Linked DNA regions of Homo sapiens: all the other regions are linked to region 1. The links are contacts of gene promoters, found by promoter capture Hi-C in blood cells and fetal thymus (Javierre and others, 2016). All regions are on one chromosome and are shown on one strand. Each heading gives the region's core, a stretch centred on a gene start or on the middle of the fragment in contact. The rest is flanking DNA. Distances are from core to core; before and after follow the strand shown.

What was found. The method cuts DNA at HindIII sites, captures the fragments that hold promoters and counts their contacts. A CHiCAGO score of 5 or more calls a contact.
Region 2: a contact is called between a fragment that was not itself captured here and the fragment with the promoter of XPNPEP2 in region 1, in 4 of 17 cell types (neutrophils, non-activated CD4 T cells, activated CD4 T cells and 1 more). The highest score is 8.2, in neutrophils.
Region 3: a contact is called between a fragment that was not itself captured here and the fragment with the promoter of XPNPEP2 in region 1, in 4 of 17 cell types (activated CD4 T cells, total B cells, non-activated CD4 T cells and 1 more). The highest score is 7.7, in activated CD4 T cells.
Region 4: a fragment that was not itself captured here is called in contact with the fragment with the promoter of XPNPEP2 in region 1 in 8 of 17 cell types (non-activated CD4 T cells, activated CD4 T cells, total B cells and 5 more); the score reaches 13.6 in non-activated CD4 T cells.
Region 5: a fragment that was not itself captured here is called in contact with the fragment with the promoter of XPNPEP2 in region 1 in 9 of 17 cell types (activated CD4 T cells, total B cells, neutrophils and 6 more); the score reaches 12.8 in activated CD4 T cells.
Region 6: a contact is called between a fragment that was not itself captured here and the fragment with the promoter of XPNPEP2 in region 1, in 4 of 17 cell types (M0 macrophages, neutrophils, activated CD4 T cells and 1 more). The highest score is 8.6, in M0 macrophages.
Region 7: a contact is called between a fragment that was not itself captured here and the fragment with the promoter of XPNPEP2 in region 1, in 3 of 17 cell types (activated CD4 T cells, total B cells and M0 macrophages). The highest score is 6.2, in activated CD4 T cells.

The regions. Positions count from the first base shown.
Region 1 is chrX:129,736,957-129,740,743 of GRCh38, forward strand. XPNPEP2 (X-prolyl aminopeptidase 2) reads left to right here and starts at 2,023. Exons shown (of 21, transcript NM_003399.6): 1 at 2,023-2,306. The coding sequence starts at 2,258. RefSeq lists an enhancer at 1,253-1,302. The HindIII fragment of the contact is 11,300 bases long and covers 1-3,787 here.
Region 2 is chrX:130,174,734-130,178,520 of GRCh38, forward strand. The region is part of intron 1 of RAB33A (RAB33A, member RAS oncogene family); the gene reads left to right. Among named protein-coding and RNA genes, the nearest start is that of RAB33A, 4.7 kb to the left of the region's middle. RefSeq lists an enhancer at 1,849-1,918. The HindIII fragment of the contact is 857 bases long and covers 1,627-2,483 here.
Region 3 is chrX:130,140,679-130,144,465 of GRCh38, forward strand. The region is part of intron 6 of AIFM1 (apoptosis inducing factor mitochondria associated 1); the gene reads right to left. It also overlaps a transcript of RAB33A not described here. Among named protein-coding and RNA genes, the nearest start is that of AIFM1, 23 kb to the right of the region's middle. The HindIII fragment of the contact is 657 bases long and covers 923-1,579 here.
Region 4 is chrX:130,102,807-130,106,593 of GRCh38, forward strand. The region is part of intron 1 of ELF4 (E74 like ETS transcription factor 4); the gene reads right to left. Among named protein-coding and RNA genes, the nearest start is that of ELF4, 5.8 kb to the right of the region's middle. RefSeq lists a silencer at 788-1,082. The HindIII fragment of the contact is 182 bases long and covers 1,805-1,986 here.
Region 5 is chrX:130,039,590-130,043,376 of GRCh38, forward strand. The region is part of intron 11 of BCORL1 (BCL6 corepressor like 1); the gene reads left to right. Among named protein-coding and RNA genes, the nearest start is that of BCORL1, 59 kb to the left of the region's middle. The HindIII fragment of the contact is 3,769 bases long and covers 153-3,787 here.
Region 6 is chrX:130,018,695-130,022,481 of GRCh38, forward strand. BCORL1 (BCL6 corepressor like 1) reads left to right here. Exons shown (of 14, transcript NM_001379451.1): 5 at 2,291-2,456. Among named protein-coding and RNA genes, the nearest start is that of BCORL1, 38 kb to the left of the region's middle. The HindIII fragment of the contact is 4,204 bases long and covers 1-3,787 here.
Region 7 is chrX:129,997,500-130,001,286 of GRCh38, forward strand. All of the region lies in intron 1 of BCORL1 (BCL6 corepressor like 1), which reads left to right. Among named protein-coding and RNA genes, the nearest start is that of BCORL1, 17 kb to the left of the region's middle. The HindIII fragment of the contact is 5,421 bases long and covers 1-3,787 here.

The DNA.
Region 1 (3,787 bases), core at 773-3,272:
GAGCATCACCAACATTAGCCCATTGAATCCTCATAACAACCCTAAGAAGCTAGTACTATTATTATGCCAACTCACAGGTGAGGACACTGGGGACTCAGGGAGATAAAGTCACTTGCCCAAGATCACACAGCTAGTGGGTGCCAGAGCTGGGATTGAAACTCAGGCTGATTGGCTCCCAAGTCAGTGTTTCAAGGCTCAGTTCACTGACAGAAAGACAGGACCATGTTTGTCCTCAAAGGCTATCTTCAGGGGTCTTCCCCTGCAAAATCCCATCAGCTCTACCTGCTTGCTTGCCCTTCAGGATGGCTACTGCAGCAAACAGAGGAGGCAGGAGTCTTTGAGGGGGCATTTTCCAGTGCTCTGGTCTCTGGGAATAATTTCATTACCAGTCCTGGAAGGGGTGGGAGAGAGGAGCCTGGGGAAAAGGCTGCGGGAGCTTCAGCAGTTATTGAATGACAGCATTCTCATGTTCTCCTTGTCCCTGGTCTGTCCTCTGAGGCTGTGGGCTCCTGCCCTCTGCTTTTATTCCTGAGAATGAAGTTCACTGGGCCACCTCACTCATTTTGACTCTGCCCCTTCAGAGACTCCCATGAAGGTCCGTTTTCCCTCTTCAAAATGGCCTATTTTGTCATTCTTGAATGGATGGTTGAAAGTTGCTTTACACTTGATGTGGACATAAGCAGACTGTAAATCCATTAAAAATAGAAACAAAAGGAATGGTGGCCAGGCATGGTGACACGCACCTGTGGTCTCAGCTACTCAGAAGGCTGAGGCTGGAGAATCACTTGAGCCCGGGAGGCTGAGGTTGCAGTGAACCGAGAACATGCCACTGCACTCCACCCTGGGCAACAGAATAAGACCCTGTTTCAAAAATAAAAATAGAAACAAAAGGAATGGGCAGTTTGCCTCTGGGGCCCTCCAGGCTAGGTGAGCATCCATCCCCATTGGGTCTGTTTGTCTCTCTAAAGCATTCCTCTCTGGGAAATCACCTTCCTCGAACCCAAAGAGCAAGGGTTCTGTAGAGCATTTACTAGGAGCTGCCTTGAAGCTGCCCTCTGATTCAGCTGGGCGTGAAGACAAGGCAGGCCTCAGCTTCTCCATTTCCCTCATTGGGAGTTGTGTTGTTTACGAGTGACTCACACTTCAGGGTAACCAAATCCCTGTTCTAGAAGCTACAGCAGAAACAGCATTTCCAGTTCACCAAATTAGTCTTCTCAGAGCGCCCAAACTCCCCTTTCTGTGTCTTCTTCCCTATTCAGTGGCATCCCCCAAACCCTCCAGATAGGGGCATCTTTGGGCTTTCATTTCCTCCCAGGTGTGAGTGGCTCTAACAGCCTCGGTTCCCCAGAGTGCAGGTTCAGAAAATGCAGGGGAATGGGACTCCCCAGATCCCAAGGGAAGAGCTGGCATCACTTCTTCAGAGTGGGCACTCCTGGGGGGACTCATCCCAGCTCAAGAAAGTAACTCTCCAGTCACAACCAACTTTCCCAAGGGGTACAGTGGGACTTGCCAAGCACTACAAGAAGAGAGGACACTGGCTTTTCCAGTCAGCTTGGAGGAAGAGAGGGAGGAAAAAAGGAGGGGGAGGAAGAGCAAAAAGGAGGAGGAGGAGGAAATGGACAAGGAGGAAAAAAAAAAAAAGGAGGAGGATGAGGAGGGAAAAGGAGGAAGAAGAAGAGGAAGTGGAGGAGCCCAGAAAAGGAGGGGAAGGAGGAAAAAGGAGGAGGAGAAGGAAAACGAGGAGGAAGAAGAGGTGGGGAGGAAAAGGAGCAGCAGCAGGAGGCAAATCTCCATCCCCACAGCAAAAGCAGTGCTGGAGCCAGAGCCCAGAGTGTGGGAGCTAATGGGAATCAGCTTGCTGGAGGGAAGGGGACCGAATTAAGGAATGGCTGGGGCTCTGCCGCTGAGAGGGGGCTGGGAAAAGCAGGCTGATTGAGACCAGCTGTTGTGCCTCTGTCTCTGAGATCTTTGGACTCTGCCCAGGATAGCCTCACACCCTATCCTACACGACTAGGAACTTGCACAGTCCGCCTCGGGCAGCCCAAAGCTCCTCTGCCCACCCTGGCTCCCAGAGCCCTCCAAAACAAAAGACCAGAGAAGCACTCTCCACCCAGCAGCCAGACGCCTCCTTCTTGACGCCAGCCCCCACCCTCTGTCTGCTCGAGCCCAGGAAAGGCCTGAAGGAAGAGGCCGGGGAAAGAGCCCTCCCTCTCTCCCTTGTCCCTCCATCCACCCAGCGCCGGCATCTGGAGACCCTATGGCCCGGGCTCACTGGGGCTGCTGCCCCTGGCTGGTCCTCCTCTGTGGTATGTGCATCCTAGCTTCCACTGGAAGGCAGCTCTGACCTCTCCCCTCTGAGCTCAGAAAGGGTTGGAGTGAGGGTTGGGGCCCGAGTCTCTTTTTCTGTTGCTTCCTCTCTCTGACTTGAGGAAGAGACACCTCAGGGCCAGTGTTGGGGGCCCTCATAACTTGGATCGAGTCTGGTTTGGCACCTTTCCATTCCCCCCGTTATAGAAAAAAAATATTCTGACACTCGTTAAAACGGTAAGGAAAACTTAATTTAAGACTACCGCATTGCAATAGAGGAGAGAAATGGGGCTCAACTCTGATTACAGAAAAGACTTCCAGGGATCTGTAGCCAAGGAGCAGAGTGAGGGGGTCAGTGGATGGAAAAGTATTAAGAGGAGATAGCAAGGGTAGGGGGATTCTTGCTAAACCGACTGAACAGCATTCTTGCTGACGGCAGGCCAGAGTGATCAGATATCAAGGGTGTCTAAACTGACTTAGCAAGATTCTTGCTAAGACTGGGTGATGCAAGCCTGGCAAGGGCAGGACAGACACAGAAGGCCAAGGTCAAGGCCAAGTGGAGAAGAGGCTTTGGGGGAGCCTAACTAAACTTTGGTCAGGAAGAGAGTCTTTCCTCTTTGTCATTCCTGCGGCACCCTCTCTGTCCTCAACTAGGTGCCCAGCCCAGCGCTCCCACCCTAGCCTTCCTTTCTTTGTTGTCTGTCAGCAGGGCCTGATCAGTCACTCAATGTCCAGTTCCTGAGCACCTACCCAGTGCCAGGCCTTGTGCCAGGGACCACAGAGTCATTCAGCTGCAGAGCCTGCTCTTGGGAGCCACAGCCCTGGCCTCAGAGAACAGCATATTCTGGTGTCCAGAGAGACATAAGTTGGCTGTGTCCTCATTCTTATGTTAGCATATCAGTGCCAACATTTTGCCAGGGATCTGTTTCTACAGAAATGGGTGTTTGTTTTCTTAAATGAACAGTATGGGTCGCATCTGATCCTTGAGTTTATGAGACCAAGATAAAATCACACAGGACGTTCATGGTGTTGAACCCCAGCCACCCTCCTTGCATCTGTAGCTCAGCCCACTCGAAAGTGTGGCTGGGCGTGGTGGCTCATGCCTGTAATCCCAGCTCTTTGGGAGGCCATGGCAGGCGGATCACTTGAGGTCAGGAGTTCGAGACCAGCCTGGCCAACATGGTGAAACACTGTCTCTATTAAAATTACAAAAATTAGCCAGGCATGGTGGCGCACGCTTGTAATCCCAGTTCCTCAGGGGGGGCTGAGGCAGGAGAATCGCTTGAACTCAGGAGGCAGAGATTGCAGTGAGCCAAGATTGTGCCACTGCACTCCAGCCTGGGCAAAAGAAGGAGACTCCATCTCAAAAAAAAAAAAAATGCGGGCGCGGGGGGCGTTGGGCGCAGTGGCTCACGCCTGTGATCCCAACACTTTGGGAGGCCGGGGCGGGTGGATCACCTGAGGTCAGGAGTTCGAGACC
Region 2 (3,787 bases), core at 805-3,304, 440 kb after region 1:
TCTAAGAGCAAGGGTGTGGCCTCTTCTGGGCTGCCTGCCTGTGTCCCGGGGTAGCACATACATGAACCCCTGCTAGGGACAACTGATTTGGTGTAGTTAGAGCCACACTGTAATTAATTATCAAGGCCATCCCTAGGGTATTGAAGCCCCATTTGCTGTCTCCAATCATTATGTTCCCCACCCTCACCCCATCAAAGCATTTACAATTGAGTCCTGATGAACTCAATTGTATGAACATCAAGAAAAGCCTCCAATGAGTAGGCAATAATAATAATAATAATAACAACTATGTATTGAATAAGCAAAGAGCCCAGGCTAGGCACTTTACATGCATTATCTTATTTACTCCTCACAGCAGCTTTATGAAATCAGCAGTATTGTTATCATTCCCATTTTATAGATAAGGAGACTGAGGCTAAGAGAGATGAAATAACCCAGTGGCACATGGATCTGAGCTTCAGCCTTTGACTCTTGAGCCCAAGCACTTCGCCACCTCACTATCCTACCTTTCCTGTTACAGGGCCACGATTTCAACCCAGATTCAGAGACCATGCCCTTTACCACTGCATTTCACTCTACAGGACAATATTCAGTCCCCTAGATTGGGGGAGTTTGACAGGGGGAGATAGAATGCCAGGCAGCCAGTCTTGCTCTTTCTTCTAGGCCAGGGACTTAGGGTTATAGCCCAAGGCCCCCAGGAGCCTTTCAGATGTCTCCTTCAATTTGTATCCAGGACACACAGAACTCAACTGGGTTTACTTTTTTTTTTTTTTTTTTTTTGAGAGGGAGTTTCACTCTTGTTGCCCAAGCTGGAGTGCAATGGCACGATCTCAGCTCACTGCAACCTCGGCCTCCTGGGTTCAAGCAGTTCTCCTGCCTCAGCCTCCTGAGTAGCTGGGATTATAGGCACCTGCCATGATGCCCAGCTAATTTTTATATTTTTAGTAGAGATGGGGTTTCACCATGTTAGCCAGGCTGGTCTCGAACTCCTGACCTCAGGTGATCCACCTGCCTCGACCTCCCAAAGTGCTGGGATTACAGGCGGGAGCCCTGGGTTTACTTTTTGCACCTTGATTATCTCAACTCAGGTGTGAGATGCAGAAAATGTTCAGAGATAAAAGAGATGTTACAGATTCTGTGATCCAGTGTCCTCCTCTTGCAGATAGGAAACTGAGACTCAGAGAGGGAAAGTGACTTGCCCAAGATCACACAGGGCCAGGCCTAGAACTCATGTCTCCTAATTCCCTTTCTGGTGCTCTTTCCACACATCATGCTGCCTGGCACAAAATCCTCTCTCCAGCCTAGCTCCATGGTCCATCCAACCCACAAGGCCACCTATGACAAGAATCCAGAGGGACATCATAAGAGATAGCTGACAGTCTTTCCTGACATCAGCCTAGGAAGGGTGGAGGCATCCCCCAGCCCCCAAAGGAAGAGTGGAGCTTCCCTTAATGACTATGATGTGTCTGTCACCTACAGATGTAGCTAAATTTATTGAGTCTGTCTCCTAAATGCATTGGAAAATGCCGAATAGGGGTGTGTGTGTGTGTGTAGAGAGGGAGGGTATGTAGTAGAGGGGAGGCTAAGAAACTAATTTTTGAATCATTCTTTGTATATTTGCATGGAAGCTTCACTTCTGTCTATAATAGTTTGGTTCCTCCCACAGGCTGGGCACTCCCTGTGCCCCAGCCCTGGGGACAAGACAAACTGCAGGTCAGCTGTGGCTATGGGCAGGTACAGCTCAGGACTGTGAGTTTCTGTTCCTCTACTGATCACTGGGGGAAAAAAAATACCTTCCTGTGTTACATTATCAAGTGGATGGAGGCTGAGCTAAGTGTTCCTTGGAAGCTGCCTGCAGTCAGAATGACATCATTTCTTCCTTAGGGCTTCTGAGCTTCTATCTTCTGCCAGTTAACTTAATGGTTAATTATCCATCAGTGTAAGTTTCTCTGTCTCCCTTGCTGCTTCTTTCTGTGTGTGAGTTTCTCTTTGTCTCTGTCCTCCTTTGCCATTCTCTGTGTCAGCTTTGTGTGTGGATCTTAGATGCAGATGGGACAGTCCAGCTAGTTGAAAACAGGTTTCTTTTAAACTTTTCCCATCATCCACTGGGGCATGCTCCAGAGGTTACAGATGTATTTGTCTCCTTTTTTTGCACTTCTACCCTCCCCCATCGGCCTCCAACAAAAGCACATTCATGCCTCATCTATAGAAAGATGCCAGTTAATGTTTCCTAGGGAAAAGAAATCCCCCTGTCAGCTAAGAGCACATGCAGGGGGTTGGGGGCTTGCTGAAGCTCGCCCAGAAAATAGTTCAAAAGGTTAGATATCTCTTTGGCAGTTCCCCATGCTGTGCCCCTCCATCCTCCTCCAGCACCCCATCAGTTCGGGCCTGCCCCCGGCCACCCATGGCATGTTGCCAGTATTCCTCTCTCCACCCCCTCCCCACTGGATGGCCTTTAGCTCTGTCTCACCTTCGAGAAGCCAAGCTTTCTGTGATTTCCAGGATGAGAGACCAATGGACCCAAGGAACCATACCAACAGGAGAGGGCTTGATGGCCTTTCTGAGACCAGAGCAACAACTAATATTTGCAGAGTGCTTGACATTTTCCAAAAGTCCTTTCTCATGTGTTATTTCACTGGATCATCCCAGCAACCATAGGAGGATCAAGGTCCCATTGCAGAGATGAGAAAAACAAGGCTCAGTTCAGGGAGGTTAAAAGACTTGTCTGGCATTTACTCAGCTTCTGAGCAGAAGAGCTGGGATGCTTGCTGCCTTTCCAACAGTGCTTGCTCAAGTTGTTGCCCATCTAGACTTAATGGTGGAGGTTTCAGGCCATGAAAGAAGGGAGAGTGTATATTAGGCACTGGGTCACATACTTACAAGGACTACTAATCCTCATAGCATCCCTACCTGATTACTATTGTTATCATCACTTTCCAGATGAGGACACTGAAGTCAGAGAAAGTAACTTACCTAAGGACACCTAACTTATCTAAGGACACCTAACAAGTCATGTACTAACATGACTTGGGCCGAGATCTGCACCCAAGTTGATTTGACTCCACTATACCCCATTGGCCATCTGACAGAAACAAGGATCTGGGGTACATGTATGTGGCTGTGGCTAAGAGGCAGTCTTCACCCCCATCCACTGTATGGATATGGTGCCCACAGGAAAGGAGGAAAGGGTGAGAGGAGAGGCAGCTGCGAAAGAGGAAGGAGATGCTTTCACTGCTTGGCAGGGGCCAGGGGTTTATGAAGATGCTGAGAAAGGAACACCTAACTCTCAAACAAAATGAGATCACTGCTAGGTAAGGTGGCTTGCCAGCACTTTGGGAGGCCGAGGCAGGATGATTGCTTGAGCCCAGGAGATCCAGACCAGCCTGGGCAACATAAGGAGGACCCCATCTCTATGAAATAAAAAAAATATGAAAATTAGTTGGGTGTGCTGGTGCGTGCCTGTAGTCCCAGTTACTCCGAAGGCTGAAGAGGGAGGATTGCTTGCGCCTAGGAGGTTGAGGCTGCAGTGAGCCATGATTGCACTGCTGCACTCCAGCCTGGGTGACACAATGAGATCTTGTCTGGAAAAGAGAGAGAGAGAGAGAGAGAAAGAGACCAGGCGTGGTGGCTCACACCTAGAGTCCCAGCACTTTGGGAGGCCCAGGTGGGCAGATCACTTGAGCCTAGGAATTTGAGACCAGCCTGGGCAACATGGGGAAACCCCATCTCTACAAAAAATACAAAAATTAGCCGGGTGTGGTGGTGCATGCCTGTAGTCCCAGCTACT
Region 3 (3,787 bases), core at 1-2,500, 400 kb after region 1:
TTGAGATATAATTCACATCAAATTCACCATTTTAAAGTGTGGAATTCTGTGGATTTCAGTATATTCACAAGGTTGTGCCACCATCACCACTATCTGATTTCAGAACATTTCCATCACCACCCCAAAACTCCAGGTCAATAAGAAGTTGTCAGCCCAGGACAGGCACAGTGACTCATGCCTGTAATCCCAACACTTTGGGAGGCTGAGGCAGGCAGATCACTGAGGCCACGAGTTTGAGACCAGCCTGGCCAACATGGCGAAACCCCGTCTCTACTAAAAATACAAAAATTGGCCAGGTGTGGCGGCATATGCCTGTGGTCCCAGCTACTGGGGAGGCTGAGGCAGGAGAATCGCTTGAACCTGGGAGGCAGAGGTTGCAGTGAGCCGAGATCATGCCACTGCACTCCAGCCTGGGCAACAGAGCAAGATTCTGTCTCAAAAACAAAACAAAACAAAAAAACCCCAAAACCACAACAACAAAAACAAACAAAAACAAAAACAAAAAAAGTTGTCAGCCCAATAAGAAGAATGAGTTCTTGACCTAAAGCGATCCTTAAGAAACCATATCCAAGTAATCATGGGAACCACAGTTTCTGGTACCCAGTTTTTTTAGGCAGTCATATGTTGGAAATTGGCAATGAGAAGGCAGGCAACATTAGAGCAAGTCATGACAGTCCCAAAGCCCTGACCCATGTGTGGAAAAGGAGAATCGGAACAGCCTTTCTTATATGGCTGTTTGGAATTACTTATTATTACTTTATTAATAAGTCTCCTACATCTACAACATTTTTACAGAATGCTTTCTCCAACTTGTAGCCTTCACGGAAACTTGGCTCTCTCTTAAGGAGAGCTTACACATAGAGGCTGTTCGTTCCCCCACACTCCACATCACAAGGCCAGGAGGAGGTGTTGGCATTCTGCAAGCTTCTTGAGGTTACTGGTCTGCTGCTTCCAGATTCTTGTACTTTCATTCTCTTCTGAGGGACATCAGAGGAGTCCTATATTCCTACGAATCACTGTTTTGAGCCACCTCCTGGCTACTCCTCCTGATTCACTGAAGACCTTGGAACCTGGCTCATACTTTTCCTCATCTTGTTATCTCCTAAACCTCTCCTCCTACCTCAATTATTCTACTTGTTGGTCACAATTTTCCATCCCTTCAGCTTTCGCTCAGTCTGTCTCCTATGCTTGCTTTCAATTTTCTCTGTTTATTTGACTAGCTGCTCCATTCTAACTAATTTGGGCCAATGGTAGAACACCCAAACTGTTCTTTTGCCAGTACCTTTAATTCCCTTGCACCCTACTCCTTCTTATGGTTAAGAGCTTGAGCTTTGGAGTCAGAGAGAATAGGGCCCCAGTCTTTGCACCACTCTTTACTAGCTGAGACCATTCAATTAAGCACCTACTATGTATCAAGTTGAGACAGTGATCCTTGCTGCTTTCAGAGTTTAGTGGCCAAGACAATTTAACAAGCACTAACAATAATCAAGAGTGACAAATGTGATGTAAGTGGTAAGAACAGTGCAGGTAGCGCTGGGAACATATGACATGTGCAATCTAGTCAGGTTGGGTTGGGTAAAGCTTTCTAGAGGCAATGACATGAACTGAGATCTGATGGATAAGCAGCTTCTTTAGCCTCCTTTGATTTGTCCTTGGTAAGCTCCCTCTTCAATCCAATCCCGCTACTCAACCCTCACGGTGTTCGCTCTCAGATAACCATCTTATGTTCTATTGTATTGCAAAAACAAATGAAGCCATTAGATGTGATCTTCCATAGCTTCCCATGAGGCATGAGGGCTCCCCACCACCCCCGTCCAGCCTATTAACATGCTTGTCCCATCCAATAGGTCCCACCTTTGATTCTATGTCCTCTTCACGCTTTTATCCGATTGCCATCTCTCTTTTCTCATTTAAATCTTTTGAAAGAGTGCTTTACCCTCTTTTCTAACTTCCCAATGGTATCTGTTTTATTTTATTAATTTTTTGAAATGGAGTCTTGTTCTGTCACCCAGGCTGGAGTGCACTGATGCAATCTTGGCTCACTGCAACCTCCGCCTCCTGGGTTCAAGCGATTCTCGTGCTTCAGCCTCCTGAGTAGCTGGGATTACAGGTGTGCGCCACCACACCTGGCTAATTTTTGTATTTTTAGTAGAGATGTGTTTTCACCATGTTGGCCAGGCTGGTCTCTAACTCCAGACCTCAAGTGATCCACCTGCCTCAGCCTCCCAAAGGTATCTGAACCGCCAAATCTCACAGTGCATTTTACGGTTCTTTTCTTCCCAGATTCCTCTGCCACGGTAACACTGTGGATCACATTCTTTTTCTTGAAACTCCCTACAACCTTGGCTCCTGTCCTCAGGTTTCCTCATACTGCTCTTTAAGTTCTTTCCTAGTCTCCTTTGTGGGTTCTTCTTAAGCCTGCTTCCTAAAAATTGGGGTTCCCCAGGGCTCTATCCTTGCCTTCCTCCTCTTCTCACCAGATCAGTTCTCCCTGGGAGGCTTCACCTACTCTCATGGTTTCAACTTCTACACATATGCAGATGATTCTCAGCTCTCTATCTGAGCCCAAGTCCCCTGGGCGTGGCAGTCATATGTCCAACTGCCCAGAAGACACCTTCACGCAGATATTCCACTTCATACTTAATGGTCCAAAACTGAATTTTATCTTCCCCCTTAAACTAGCTCTTCCTCTTGTAATGTCTTTCTCAGCTGTGGGTACACTGCCATCCACTCAGACATGCAGGCTAGAAATTAGAAAATCATCTTTGCCTCCTCCATCTCCTTCATCTTCTACCTTTAACCAACCACCAAGCCTCATCAAGCATGACTCCTAAGCATGCCTCAAGTGTGTTCCCTACTTCTCATCACCTTTCTATCAAGAAGTAATACTGGCTGGACACGATGGCTCATGCCTGTAATCTCAGCACTTTGGGAAGCCGAGGTGGGTGGATCACCTGAGGTCAGGAGTTCGAGACCAACCTGGCCTACATGGTAAAACCCCATCTCTACTAAAAAGACAAAAAAAAAAAATAGCCAGGCATGGTGGCGCATGCAGCTACTTGGGAGGCTGAGGCAGGAGAATCGCTTGAACCTGGGAGGCAGAGGTTGCAGCGAGCTGAGATCATGCCACCGTACTCCAGCCTGGGCGACAGAGTGAGAATCTGTCTCAAAAAAAAAAAGTACTGTACACTGTACACTGATGTTATTAATAGCTTAGGCTCTGGAATCAGAATAGCTGGGTTCCAATTCTGTGGCTCAGACAGACCCGGGCTCAAATTCTCTCTCTACCACTTACTAGCTATGTGAGTTTAGGCAAATTATTTAAAATTTATTTATTTTTAAAAATTTCAACTTATTTCTCTGTAAGAGGGAAATAATACCTACCTCATAAGATTATTGGGAGGATAAAATGAGATGGTGCACATAAAGCATTTAAGAACTGTGCTTACAAGATTAGAATAGGTACTATACAAATTTTACCTCTTACTTTCTTCTTCTTCTTCATCATCATCATACCACTACTATTCTAATTTGGGCTCTCATCATCTCTTGCCTAGATTATTGCAATAATCTCTGAAATGGTCTCTCTCTAGTCTTGTCTCACTGAAATCCATCCTCCTCACGGCCAATGGTGATTATTTAAAATTCAATTGCCTAAAATGCAACAGCTCCCCAGTGCAGAAAAAGCTCTTTCACGCAAAGCCCTCCACAATCAGGCCCCTTGCATAACTTCTCAGGTTCATCTCTTGCCACTTCCTAACTTGTACCTAACTGCTCTATCAGTATC
Region 4 (3,787 bases), core at 646-3,145, 370 kb after region 1:
ACCAAGAAAAAGAAAGAAAGAAGAAAGCAAGAAAGCAAGATAAAGATGAGAGAGAGAGAGAGAGAGAGAGAGAGAGAGAGAAAGAAAGAAAGAAAGAAAGAAAGAAAGAAAGAAAGAGAGAGAAGGAGGGAGGGAGGAAGGAAGGAAGGGAGGGAGGAAGGAAGGAAGGAAGGAAGGAAGGAAAAGAATTTGGATCCATACCACTCAACATACAGAAAAATTAACTCAAAGCAGACCATAGACTAAAATGTAAAGACTAATATTATAAAACCTATAAAAGAAAATATGAGACAAAATATTTGTGAACTAAGGCTAGGGGAAGAGTTCTTCGATACAGCACCAAAACTATGACCCATAAAAAGAAAAGTTGAAAAGTTGCACTTTCATCAAAATTTAAAATGTTTGCTAAAGTCAAAAGACACTGAGAAGGGGATTAAAAGAAGCCACAGACTACGAGAAAGTATTTACAAAGCATGTATCTGATGAAAGTCTTGTATCCAAAAAATATAAAGAACTCTCACAACTCAACTACAAGAAAACAAACAATTCAGTTTAAAAATGGGCAAAAGATTTGAACAGACACCTCAACAAAGAAGACATATGGACAGCAACTATATGAAAAGATGTTCAACATCATCAGTCAATACAAACATCATCAGGAAAATACAAATTAAAATCACAATGAGATACCACTGCACACTTATTAGAATGGCTAATTAGAAGTGGTCATCTAATGAGACAGGTGTTTTCTGTGCATAGATTCTCATAGAATTAGCAGAGCTGAACTAGCCTCTGTTATCCTCAGGGGGCATTATAGGAAAAAGATTAGCTCCTCATTCTATGTCTAAATACCTCCTTGTTATCGGGTCATCAGGAATTTCGGGAGGTTAAGAATAATTGCCACCCTCCCATCCCCCAAAGCCTAGCAGTTCTAACTGAGGGGTGGGGACCAAGGGACTGAGTGGAGTGCTTTACTCAGGGGTGGTCCAGTTTATCCTAGGCTGCCTGTCCCTGCGGGTGGTCACAGGCTCCTCAAGCAAACACAATCCAGTCAATAGCAAATGGAACCTCCAAGTTACTCTCTGGGAGGCCTCTGGAAGGGCACTGGCCCCCAGTCCCCTGGGAGCTCTTCTGGGCAAAGGCAGTGCCCCAGCCTCAACTCAAGGCCTCTGGGCATTGGCCCAGAATGGACCCATCATCTATTCTAGTGAAGGGTGAGAGTGAGTGGTAGTCAGCCAGTTGGCTCCCAGAATTTTACACTCAGTAGGATAATAACAACAATCTGATGATTGCTAAATAGTTCCCAGGAGTACAACGTTAGGCCTCTCAAAGAAACTAACTTACTCTTATTTCTGCAGTGAATGATGCTCAAGATGAAAATGGTGAAGGACTAAAGAAGGCAATGTTAGTACAAATATTAACGATTTGAGTTTTGCTCTTCACTACAGCACTGCCTGCCATTCAGTATATTACACACACACACACACACACACACACACACACACACACACACCTTCTATTACATCCTTTCCCTATCCTGTGCAATGGCCGAGTTAACAAAAAGCAGAAAAACCTGGAAAATCTCCCGCTTAGTTTCAGAAATGGGTGTGGCATGCCCTGCCCGCATTGCCGAAGAAGTAGTTGGTCCCTAGAGCCTGGCAAAGTCAAGGGTGTGTGAAGGGGAAATGGTGACAACAATAATAATAACTGTCACAGGAATAATAATAACAGCAGTGAACACTTACTGGGTGGGTACTATATGCCAGGCACTCTGCTGAGTGCTTTATATGCATCGTCTCATTTAAGCTTCACTCCAACCCTGTGAGATGGGCGCTGACTCCCAGAGTGGTTAAGTAACTAGCTCAACAGCAAATAGTCACACAGCCAGTAAGTTTGGCATATAAATGTAGAGAGCCTGTGCTCTTCCTCCTCTAGACAATAACATGTATTGGGAAGGATATTGGGTCACACTGGAAGAGGAAAGGAAGCTTCAGGAGAGTCAGGTGTTCTGAGAGGCAGGAAGTGCCCACACTGGGCCAAGAAAATGACCCATCAAGAAGGTGGCAACTCGGCTGGGTGCGGTGGCTCATGCCTGTAATCCCAGCACTTTGGGAGGCCAAGACAGGTGGATCACCTGAGGTCAGGGGTTCGAGACCAGGCTGGCCAACATGGTGAAACCCCGTCTTTACTAAAAAATACAAAAAAAAAAGAAAATTAGCTGGGCATGGTGGTAGGTGCTTGTAATCCCAGCTACTTAGGAGGCTGAGGCAGGAGAATTGCTTGAACCCGGGAGATGGAGGTTGCAGTGAGCCAAGATCACACCACTGCACTCCAGCCTGGGCGACAGAGCAAGACTCTGCCTCAAATTAAAAAAAGAAAAGAAGGTGGCAACTCAAGGGAAAGCTTGCTCAGCCTCTACAAGCTGCTCAGCTTGCTTCTTGTTAGCCTCTCTGAGAAATGTTCTGGCACTTTCCCTTGCAGACCTTCCTGCATGAAACACCCTTCCCTGCTCCCTGACCCTCCTCCTCACCCTGGAAGCAGGCTGGGGTCTCTTTGCCGAGAAACTCACCTTAGGGCATGATTTCCCAACCAAGAAGTCAGGGCCCTCTGGTATGTCCCTTTGGTGTTGAAATGTGCTGGGGAGGAGGCAGGGCAGTGAGAGAGGGAAAATGATGAGTGTGTGTATGTGGCAGGGGGATGTCCGGGAGTTTTTTATCCAATTAAACCCAACCAGGGCCAAGCTTCCTCCATGTCCAGCCTTGGGAGACACAGAATCAGTGGAAGCAATATATGGCTAGTCCTTAGCGGTCTGGGCAGAAACACATGAAACTCTACATTCTTCATTTCCCAGATGGTGGAGTGGGGAACAATTATGAAAATCTCTTTCCTCCACCTGAAGCTCTGGGCTTCCAGAGAAATCCCAGAACCCTGGGGAAAAGGTGGGATCCAGCCAGCCTGAGACTGCCATGAGCACAAGTGGCATGTCAGTTTTCCTGTCATTTAAGTGCCCTACGTCTCCCCTGCCATCTCTCCCACTCCCCAGGGGCCTGTGTGTGTGTGTGTGTGTGTGTGTGTGTGTGTGTGTGTGTGTGTGTCTGGTAAGGGAGGGGTTTCAAACGAAATCCCCTCAGCTTGGGTGGCAGGCTGGCCAGCCAGTTTATATCTCCCGGAGTGGAGACAGGGGTTTGCACTGAGCCACCCACACTAGCTGACCTGGTCTTTTATGTGACACACATTTGCCAAACAATCATCCAGGCTTCGAAGGTCAGTTCGTGGCCAGGGAATAGAGAGAAAGGCGTCTTTTCTTCCTTTTCTGCTGAGCCAAATCTCCCCCTTGCTTCCCCCTCTCCCCCCTTCAAGGTCTAGCCTAGGCCCGCATCCCTCACAAAGCCTTCCCTCCCTCCTCCAGCTGCTGCTGACCTCCAGTCCCAGCCGTGCTGGCCTCTGCTCCAACAAGCACAATTAGCACCTGACCAGCCACTGGCCCGGCTGCTTGTCCTCGCCTCTGATTGTTTCAGTGTCTTAGTCATCTCTTCCCCAGCGCCTCCTTCTCTCATCTCCCCCACGGCGCCTAGCATCGGTTGGGCACACAGTAGGTATTAATAAATGTCTGTTGAATTGAAACTCAGCAGCCCCTATGAGGTCAGAACCCTCATAAGCACCCCGACCAGCAGTTTCTTGGCAACCAGCACTGGGGCCCGAGCTACAGGGCATTAGCAGTGTGGCTGCTATTACAGGACACACGAGGCTCAGCGGCCAGAGATTTGCAGGCAGGTTGGTGTTGATG
Region 5 (3,787 bases), core at 787-3,286, 300 kb after region 1:
TAGACCTAGCTGGGGGCAGAATGTGTTGACCTGTGCTTTGAATGGGATGTCAGTTGCAACAAAGTGATACTTAGCATTTTGCTTATGTGTTTGCAATTTCTTCTTGTTTGTGATCAAGTGGATCACAGTGGAACCCCTGGGATGCTTCCCGAAGCTTCATTCTTTACAGCCCTTGCCTGTGGGAACTGTGATGTTCCCTCTGCATCCCAGGGTCCCCCTTCCTTCCGTTCCTTTTCCTCCCTCACCTGCCCCTTCTGTAAAGTGTCTGGTGTTGAGGCCCATGGCAAGGGCCACAAGCCAACATGCATTTATTTTCTCATTAGTGGATAGCAGCTGTTTGTCTGCAGTTAGATAGCTCTACTGAGTTGGGCAGGGGGAGGAGGGAAGGAGGGGAGTCTAGCTTGGGCATGCTCAGTAGGAATCTCCTCAGACTTGACCTCTGAATAAAGGAACCCTGCCTCTTAGTGACATCACAGTTTGGCCCTTGCTCTAGCAGTGACTTCTTCAGACTGCCTGAGCGGCGGAGCAGCTGGGAGTTGTATCTCTGAACCTTCTTGGAGGCTGCAGTGTTTGTATTGTGGTTAGAACCCCTCTCTGGCCAGGAGCCAACAGGACTAAGGATTGGCCCAAAGCTGCTCCCTCTTCTCACCCAGACTTTGGCCCTAGTTAGCCCCGAACCTCTATACCTCCAGATATATGGTTCCAGGCTCCCAACCAGGGGCTCATTTGTTTATCCAACAAAGGTTAACTAAGTAGCTGATGATGGAGGAAGAAACAAAGGGGACCTAACTAAAGGCTCTTATGGAAGGGGAGGACTAGGTAGGCGGTGAGTGGGGGGTAATAGGAGGCTGTCGCGGGAGATCTTGACTCCTGCTCAGCCAGCCTCCACCCAGGTCTCAGCTGAGCTGACTAAACCTTGGAGCACAGGCCTTAGGCCTGTACAGCCTGACTAGCATCTCCCAGGCTGGGGGCAGGATGGCTGCCTTTTCTGTTTTCCCTCCCTCCAGCTCTGGGTTCCCAAGCCCCTGTCCTTGAGGCGCAGAGCAGCCTTGGAATGTTCATTCAGTCATTTGTCCTGGGCCAGTGGTGACTGTTGTTCCCCTTAGCTGAACCATCCCTAGGGGTGCAGGGCTTGGGGCAAGCCACCGTTGGTAGCTGCCTCCCACGTACTGTGTACACATGCACTCTCTCTTAGACACATACACGTGTTATCTGCACTCCACTGGATTCCCAGGAAAATCTGAGACCAACAAGCATCCAGAGCATCTTGATATGACAAAGGCACCACACGCAGCTCTGTCTTTGAGAAACCGGTCTAGTCCCGAGGCCTCCTTAGGCTAGAAACTGCCATCCCGAGGGTCTCAGGGGCTCCTAGATCTAAATAACACTGTGACCACCTTAGTAAACAGATGAACTCTTTGCTTCCCCAATCCCTTCTCCAAAACCCCTAAGGAGTAGGAATGTGGAAACCATTTTAAGTAGTTAAAAAATGGGAAATAGGCCAGGCGCAGTGGCTTATGCCTGTGATCCCAGCACTTTGGGAGGCTCAGGTAGGAGAATTGCTTCCGGCCAGGAGTTTGAGACCAGCCTGGGCAACATACGGAGACCTTGTCTCTACAAAAAAATTTAAAAATTAGCCAGGTATGGTGACTGCACTCCAGCCTGGGCAACAGAGTGAGACAGTGTCTCAAAAAAAAAAAAAAAAAAAAAAGAGACAGAGAGGAGAGAAATAAACACGTTTCTCTTATCTTTCTGTCTCCTCATCCCAACTACTAGCTATCTTTTGGTTTTGTTTTGTTTTTGGCGCGATCTTGGCTCACTGCAACCTCTGCCTCCCGGGTTCAAGCGATTCTCATTCCTCAGCCTCCTGAGTAGCTGGGATTACAGGCATTCGCCACTATGCCCGGCTAATTTTTGAATTTTTAGTAGAGACAGGGTTTTGCCATGTTGGCCAGGCTGGTCTCGAACTTCTGCTAGCCAGCTTTTTGACACCTCCTGAAACTAAATTGAATGCCAGTCTATGTTGCAGAATTCAGAGAAGACTTTTATTTTTTTTAGGCGGAGTCTTGCTCTGTCGCCAAGGCTCGAGTGCAGTGGCGTGATCTCAGCTCACTGCAACCTCCACCTCTCGGGTTCACACCATTCTCCTGCCTCAGCCTCCCAAGGAGCTGGGACTACAGGCACCCGCCACCAAGCTCGGCTAATTTTTGTGTATTTTTAATAGAGACGGGGTTTCACCATGTTAGCCAGGATGGTCTCGATCTCCTGACCTCGTGATCCGCCCGCCTCGGCCTCCCAAAGTGCTGGAATTACAGGCGTGAGCCACCGCGCCCGGCCCCAGAGAAGACTTTTCTTAACTCTAGTACTTCACATATTTGTGGTGTGTGTGTGTATGTACGTATATGTGTTTATATATATTTGAGACAGAGTCTTGCTGTGTTGCCCAGGCTAGAGACTCCAGCACTTCCTAACTTGTCCTGGCTGAGCACCTTTATTTAGATTTGTTAAAAATTACTAGAGACAGTGTCTTGCTCTGTCACCGAGGCTGGAGTGCAGTGGTACAATCATAGCTCAGTGCAGTTTCAAACTCCTGGGCTCAAGCAATCCTCCTGCCTCAGCCTCCCAAGTAGCTAGGACCACGGGTGTGTGCCACCGGTCCCAGCTAATTTTGTATTTTATCTTTTTGTTGAGATACGGGGTTTGCTATGTTGCCCAGGCTGGTCTGGAACTCCTGGGCTCAAGCTATCTTCCCGCCTTGGCCTCCCAAAGTGCTGGAATTACAAGTGTGAGCCACCATGCCCAGTCTTCATTTAGACCTTTTGCTCAATTTATGGGCATGAATCAGGCTTAATAATGGGAGTCAGGAGCCAATGGGTTGCTATAAAGTGCACCAGCTCTTTTCCATGCAAAGGCAGCCTGGGACCTTGGCCTACCACCACAGGAAGGCAGGCACTGGCAGGAGTCAGCAGGCTCTCAAGAAGCAGGGGGCCCTTAGGCCCAAAGGCTGTTTGTAGGGTGTGTGAGAGGACAGCACTCAGGGACTTTTTTAAAAATTGAGGTAAAATTTACCTAACATAATCATTTTAAAGTGAACAATTCGGGCCAGGCGTGGTGGCTCACCCCTGTAATCCCAGCACTTTGGGAGGCCAAGGTGGGTGGATCACTTGAGGTCAGGAACTGGAGACCAGCCTGACCAACATGGTGAAACCCCCTCTCTACTAAAAATACAAAAGTTAGCTGGACCGTGGTGGTGCATGCCTGTAATCCCAGCTACTCGGGAGGCTGAGGCAGGAGAATTGCTTGAACCCAGGAGGTGGAGTTTGCAGTGAGCTGAGATCACACCACTGCACTCCAGCCTGGGCGACAGAGCGAGACTCCGTCTCAAAAAATTAATTAATTAAAAAAAATAAAGTGAACAATTCAGTGGGATTTAGTACATTCTCTTTTTTTTTTTTTTTTTCCTGAGACAAATCTCACTGTTACCCAGGCTGGAATGCAGTTGCATGATCTCAGCTCACTGCAACCTCTGCCTCCCAGGTTCAAGTGATTCTCCTGCCTCAGCTTCCCGAGTAGCTATGACTATAGGTGTGCACCACTGTGCCTGGCTAATTTTATATTTTTAATAGAGGTAGGTTTCACCATGTTGGCCAGGCTGGTCTCCAACTCCTGACCTCAAGTGATCCGCCTCCCTTGGCCTCCCAAAGTGCTGGGATTACAGGCATGAGCTACCGCTCCTGGCCCATTTAGTACATTCCTAATGTTGTGCAGCCAACCTCAGGGGCTGTTT
Region 6 (3,787 bases), core at 798-3,297, 280 kb after region 1:
AGATGAACAGTTCAGTGGGCCCACTATCAAATGCAGAGGGCAGAAATTAAAATGACAAGATCAGGGGCCTGGAAGCAGCTCTTTGCAACTGCCTGTAAGGATTTAGTAAATGTCTATTTTTTGGGAGTGCAAATCACTTCGTTCCTTCTTTTTTTTTACATGCCACCTTCCTGAGAAGGAAACTGTTGATCAGCAAACTAAGATCAGGGGTTTGTTTGAAATAGCCCCTTTCAGGGCTTGGCCAAGAGTGAAAATAGTCTCCTGTTGCCAATACCACCTGCCCAAGGCCTCTCAGGATCCTAAAGGGCCTTCTGCATCACCAGCAAAGAGAGAGAGTTCTGCTTCATTTGGTGCTGGATGTATTTTATTGTCCTCTCATTCCTTGGAAAGCTCTTTGGAAAATATTTCAAAACTGTTAACCAGAATGTTCATCTCTCACGGTCTCCCCATCCTCCCAACTTCATGCATAAGTTGGAGTGTGCGAAATATTTTTATTCCTGACCTCAGGTGATCCGCTGGCCTTGGCTTCCCGAGGTGCTGGGATTACAGGCTTGAGCCACCGCGCCCTGCTAGATGTTCTGTTTTACTTGTTTTTGTCTTCGGAAGTAAAAGTTAATGATCTGCATTTGAAAGAGCCAGCTAAGAATGATATTCAGAAATAAATAGGACATGTTCAAATGTATGTGCATTTGACTTTATTCCCCCTGACTTAAAATAGTTTTTCTCCAGCCGTACCTGAAGGTTAGTTTTTAAGCAGTAGTTCCTCATCTTCCTCTTTCCAACCAATGCTTTCCTCCTCCTAACACTTTGGTTTGTAGGAACTGGCAGCAAGCCAAGGGGGAAACTGAACTTGAATTTTTAGCTCAGGCCTCTGCTGAAAATAAGAAGCAGGAAGAGTTCATGGGATAGGAGGAGTCCTGGAATTTGATGGGTAGTGGTGACTCCCTGTCCCTGGAGAATTAGGAGGCCCCAGCCCCCGAAAATGTTCCATCAGTAAGGTATGTGCCATCCCCTTAGCTGGAGGTACACCACGATAACCTTCTAGCAGGCGAGGCATGGGTCAGCTTAGGGGAAAAACAGCTCAAGCAAGTTTAACCCTTCCTTTCCTCCTCGGACCTGCTTTTATTGTTCCAACGTTTTGCTTATTCTGCACTCCCTGCATACTAGAATACTGGAAATCCCTACATTGCCCTATTTCTTGTTTAGTGGCACAGAGAGACCTCAAAGCTCGTGAGAATACGTGACTGTTAGGCTGAGAGTGTCCTTGCAGTGTGTGAGCACAGCCATTGTGCCTCTTAGATGTGCCAGGCAGTGGGCGTGGGAGAAGCTGAGCTGAAGCAGCCGAGGAAGTGATTCAGGGAAGATAGGTAGCGAGAGCTGATGCCCAGAGGCCCGGGCTGGGGGCCAGGACCCCCGGGTCCTAGTCCCAATTCTGGGTCTTTCTCACTGCAAGCACAAATGTGCTAACTTGCGGGTTGGCCTGGTAAGTGGCAGTCCCTGAGCCAGTGGACACATGGGATTGTGTGTTACCCTGGACAAGTCATTCAACCCTTTGTCTTGGAGCCTCCGTTTTCTTATCTGTTCAGTGGGGATAATATTAGCTTCTCCTCCCAGGGTTGTGGGGAGGATAAAATCCAATAATAGAGATGAGAGCATTTGGAAAGGCTGAAAGTGCTACAGAGTATAAAGTGGCATTATGAATAATGCTTGGGCCTTTTCACTGGGTTTTATAAATATGAGGATATTTGAATTGCTCCTGTGTCATGTTTTTCTTCTTGCCTTAGTTGAATCTATTTTCTGGTATTAATTTACACGTGAAAAGAGACAATTTTTCTTGAGTTGGCCTGTACTGAGAATTATTTTCAGTTGTTGGTGCAATACCATTCACAGTGAAGTTATTTGAACAATGTAGTCTCCCAACTTGCAGAAGAGGCATTTTGTTTAATGCCGGTCTCTCCATTGGTGTTTGGGTACAGAGAGTATGGGGCCTGACTTTGCACCTTTTAAAATGACTTTGGGTGTTTATTCACTGGCTTTTGAACGCAGACTCTGTAGACCTCTTTAAAGTGATGGGATGTGGACGCCTATGGGGATTAGCTGGGGCCCTGGACTCAGTCCAAAAGAGCCCCTGTCACCCACTCTGGAAGGCAGTGCACGGCCCCTTGCCCCTGGTCCCCCACTCTGGGCAGCTCATGCCTCTAGGTCAGAAACGGGACACATGGCTCAACCCCTGGAGAGCTTTCTTAAGAAGCAAAACTGACCTCAGACCTGACCCTCTACCTCTCCACAGTGCCGGAAGCTGCCCAGTGACCCCCAGGAATCCACCAAGAAAAGCCCCAGGGGGGCTTCAGATTCAGGAAAAGAGCACAATGGAGTCAGGGGAAAGCACAAGCACCGGAAGCCGACAAAGCCGGAGTCCCAGTCTCCAGGAAAACGAGCCGACAGCCACGAGGAAGGTAGGCCCCGCGGCCCTGGCCCTCTGGGCTGGGCTGCAGAGGGATCCCCAGGGCACAGTGGTGAGGGCAGAGGGGCTCAGGCGCTGACTCCTTCACTCTGGAAAAGTGAGACTTCTTCACTGTGGAAAGAAGATATGATTGACCCCTCTGAAGTCTAAGGTGAGCGAGCAAGGATCGGGGGCCCCTTCTGCTCCTCCTGGGTGCTAGAATAAGGCTGAAGGAAGTGGTTTTCCGACACAAACACCAGGCCCACAACACAGTAGCCGACCCATTTCCCCGCGATGGGTCTAGGCTCAAAGAAACAAGTTTAAGGAGAATTTAGACAAAAACCACGGAATGGGGGTTCATTACGCTGTCTTCTTTGGGTATACTGGAAAACTGCTATTCTGAAAGGACAAAAATAAATAGCTAGTTAGCTAGGAGAGTTTAGAGAAATCTTAAACGTTTATTATCATTTAGGGACACACAGGATATCTGGGATGACGGGGCTGGTATGTGTCCCTAACCTGTCCGTTTTGCCACTAATAGTTTCTGGGCACCCTTATCAGGGAGAGAATCCCCAGCATTCCTGAGCATAGGAGTCCAGGTTCATGGTCTTGCCCACCTGACGTGACTATGACCTGCCTCTTCTGGTCTGTTCTTTTTTTTTTTGAGACAGAGTCTCACTTTGCTTCCCAGGCTAGAGGGAGTTCAGTGGCACAATATCGGTTCACTGCAGCCTCAACCTCCTGAGCTCAAGTGATCCTCCTACCTCAGCCTCCCGAGTAGCTGGGACCACAGGCATGTGCCATTACACCTGGCTAATGTTTGTAGTTTTGAAGAGATGGGGTTTCACCATGTTTCCCAGGCTGGTCTTGAACTCCTGGGCTCAAGCCATCTCCCTGCCTCAGCCTCCCAAAGTGTTGGGATTACAGGCGTCAGCCACTGCGTCCGGCCTCATCTGTTCTTAGCCGTTTTTTCTCTGTTCACTGGCTCCTTGTTCCTATCTTCCCACCTCACTCAATCCTCCAAGATTCACTGAGGTTGCCCTCCTCTGGGACCTGCTCCAGCTCAGTTAGAACTTTGTTTATTTTCTTTCTTTCTTTCTTTTTTTTTTTTTTTTTTTTTTTTTTTTTGAGATGGAGTCTCACTCTGTCACCCAGGCTGGAGTGCAGTGGCACAATCTTGGCTCACTGCAAACTCTGCATCCCAGGTTCAAGTGATTCTCCTTCCTCAGCCTCCCAAGTATCTGGGACTACAGGTGAGTGCCACCACGCCCGGCGAATTTTTGTATTTTTAGTAGAGTCGGGGTTTCACCATGTTGGCCATGCTGGGCTCGATCTCCTGACCTC
Region 7 (3,787 bases), core at 386-2,885, 260 kb after region 1:
TAAAGTTATTGCGGCCAGGCACGGTGGCTCACTCCTGTAATCCCAGTACTTTTGGAAGCCAAGGTGGGCGGATCGGAAGGTCAGGAGTTCGAGACGAGCCTGGCCAACATGGTGAAACCCCGTCTCTACTAAAAATACAAAAATTAGCCGGGCATGGTGGCCCATGCCTGTAATCCCAGCTACTCAGGAGGCTGAGACAGGAGAATCGCTTGAACCCAGGAGGCGGAGGTTGCAGTGAGCCAACATCGCGCCATTGCACTCCAGCCTTGGTGACAGAGCGAGACTCCGACTCACCAAAAAAAAAAAAAAAAAAAAAAAGTTATTGCTCTCTCATTAGTTCCTTTTCTTTTTGGTTTCCCCTGTTCTGTAGTGTGGTGATTGTCTCTGGCTACCTACTCTTGGCTGCCCACCTGTTGGATTCATTTCCTGGGATCTTGGGTAGGCCTTTTACTTCTCTGTGCATGTGCCTCCTAAATTGAAGTTTTACATATATATATATATATATATGTATTTTTTTTTCCCAGCCACACTTATGGCTTTGGATTGGCAGAGCACGTGCTCTCCTTTGTCCTCACCATGAGTTGGATATATCTTTTGAGTTTTTTCCCCCAAAGTAGGGATAGCTCACAGTGGTTCCTCTGCCTTCCAGGCAGTGACCAGGGTTGATTCTTGGGCCATGCAGCTGTTCATTTCTTTAACAATTACATGGTTGTGACATCTGGGAAAATCCTTTGAGGTATTTCATATCCTTGTGCCTGTGCTTCCTGGGTCATTTGGGATTACCAGGTTTCTTCCAAGTTCCTTTTTGGAACTTTGCTTTTGATGTGATGATTTCCATCAGAGAGAGGGAGAGTAGGCGGGGTGGTGGGGGGAGGTGGGAAGGGAGAACACATGAGTACCGGTGCTTCAAGCAAAAGCAAGCCAGCATACAAGTGTGTAAACCAGCAGCGCTTACGAAGTGTGGCATGCCTGCAAGGCTTTTCCTTTTTGCTCACCTCTCCTGGGATACTAATTTGATTGGCTATAATATAATAAAACAAACCCCTAGGCCTACTGAATCAGAATCTCCAGGACTGAGACCTAGGAATCTGTATTTTGAACAAGCTCCTCGGTGATTCTGGCTGGGGAAACATTGGTTGACATTGACCGTCCTGACTCCTCCCTTCTGTGAGCATTCACGCAGTCAGGAGTCTGTTCTCTAGGGCCGCTTTAGAGGTTCCCTTTGCTTTCCCTCTGGCTGGGGAAGACCAATCTTGCCTTCTTGTATAGACCATGTAGCTCAGTGTCAGTGTTCTCCTGCCTGTGTTTTATCCCTCCCCTCCTCTCCTCTCATCTGCAGAGGCTACTGTTAATTAGCAACAGTGGGCTTCAGATAGGAAGTGGCGCTCCTGGGACAAAATCATGATAGAAAATTGAGAGGCAAAGATTTAAGTGGATGCTCCATCTTGAGGATCTTGTGAAAATGGAGTTATCCAGAATCAGCGTTGCTCTCTACGTGGTCATAACATGTGTATTATATAGTAATTATTTTGATATTTTAACTCGGTTTTATTTTTTGTGGTTTTTTTTTTTTTTTTGCCTGAAAGCTCTTTATCTAGGTGATGTTGTATGATGTTCTGTTTCCAAATGCCAGTGTTCCCCCTCTGATTTCTGTCCCAGACCCTACATACTACTAATCCTAATCCTCTCTAAATAGAGCAATACGAAACCTGAGAGTGAAAAATCTAGTGTCACTAATACCTGCTGCCTATAGATATTTAGTAGCAACTAAAACTTGTACTTTGTGTTGAAACACATCTTTTTTTTTTTTTTTTTTTTTTTTTTTTTGAGATAGGGTCTCCCTCTGTTGCCCAGGCTGGAGTGCAGTGGCGCCATCTCGGCTCACTGCAACCTCTGCCTCCCGGGCTCAAGCAGTTCTCCCACCTCAGCTTCCCAAGTAGCAGGGACCACAGGTTTGCACAGCCACACACGGCTATTTTTTTGTATTTTGTAGACATGGGGCTTTGCCATGTTGCCCAGGCTGATCTTGAACTCCTGAGCTCAAGTGATCCACCTGCCTTGGCCTCCCAAGGTGCTGGGATTACAGGCGTGATTACAGTGGGATTACAGGCCACTGCTCTGGGCCTGAAATGCATTTTATGGCAAGAACAGCCCCTTCCATTGCTTGAGTCCTCTAATTCTTTTTCCCCCCCCCCAGACAGAGTCTTAACTGTCGCCTAGGCTGGAGTGCAGTGGTGCGATCTTGGCTCACTGCAACCTCTGCCTCCCGGGTTCAAGCAATTTTCCTGCATCAGCCTCCGAGTAGCTGAGATTACAGGTGCCTGCCACCACGCTCGGCTATTTTTTGTATTTTTAGTAGAGATGGGGTTTCACCATGTTGGCCAGGCTGGTCTCGAACTCCTGACCTCAGGTGATCCACCCGTCTCGGCCTCCCAAAGTGCTGGGATTACAGGTGTGAGCCACCATGCCTGGCCGAGTCCTCTAATGCTTAGTAGAGAGAAAAGATGAAATGAGTACCTGGGGTATCAGCCAATAGGCTGAGCTGGTTTTGTTTTTGTTTTTGTTTTAGACAGGATTTTGCTGTCGCCCAGGCTGGAATGCAGTGGCACAATCTCAGCTCACTGCAGCCTTGACCTCCTAGGCTCAGGTGATCCTCCCACCTCAGCCTCCCAAGTAGCTGGGAATACAGGCACCCGCCACCATGCCCGGCTAATTTTTTGTAGAGATGGGGTTTCGCCATGTTGCCCAGGCTGGTCTTGAACTCCTGGACTCAAGCAATCCTCCCAGCTCAACCTCCCAAAGTTCTGGGATTACAGGTGTGAGCCACTGTGCCCAACCAGTGTTGTTGGTTAAAATGGGGATATTCCAAGATATTCTGAGAAACAGTCAAAACTTGATTAACCAGGATGTTCAGGGAACGGGGTCCTTGTTAAAAATATTTCTAAAATTATGCTAACCCACATAACTGTCTTCATAATGTTAAAAGATAATTGTCAGAAAAAAGGTAAAAAATCATGACTCTCGTACAGATACAAAAATGAACACGTGTTAAAGATTTTATTTTACTCATTAATCAACAAGAGAACCAGACAGATGTTATAGCTGGTTCAAACAAAAAGTCAAAAAGCACAAATTTATATGGAGTAAAGGAAATAAATTGCAAATGGAGGCAAAAGTAGTTTTTCTACAGTGGGGAGGAAAGACAATCCAAACTCAATGGGACAAGACAGACTTCGCATATACATCAGTTACCTGCAATTACAGAGATGCAAAATAGCTTGAAGACAATAACCTGAGCTAAAATCAGATAGCCCAGAAGGTTATGCTATAGACAGTGCATAGTTTTTTCATTGGAGTACAAAGGTTTTTCTGTAGTAAGCAAACATGGTGGATGCTTTGTGTGTGTGTGTGTGTGTGTGTGTGTGTGTGTCGGGGGGTGGCTGTTGATTTTGCTTCTTGTGATTTCTCAGGGCCGTCACTTCAGTTCTTATCCAGAATTCAGTTCCATATAACATGCATTTACTGAGTAGTTACTATACGTAAGGTGTCGTGGAGGAAACAAAGACAAAAAAGGATGCTTTTTTTTTCTTTTTCTTTTTTTTGTTTTTGAGATGGAGTTCCACCCTTGTTGCCCAGGCTGGAGTGCAATGGTGCGATCTTGGCTCACCTCAACCTCCGCCTCCCAGGTTCAAGCAATTCTCCTGCCTCAGCCTCCCAAGTAGCTGGGATTATAGGCATGTGCCACCATGCCCGGCTAATTTGGTATTTTAATAGAGATGGGGTTTCC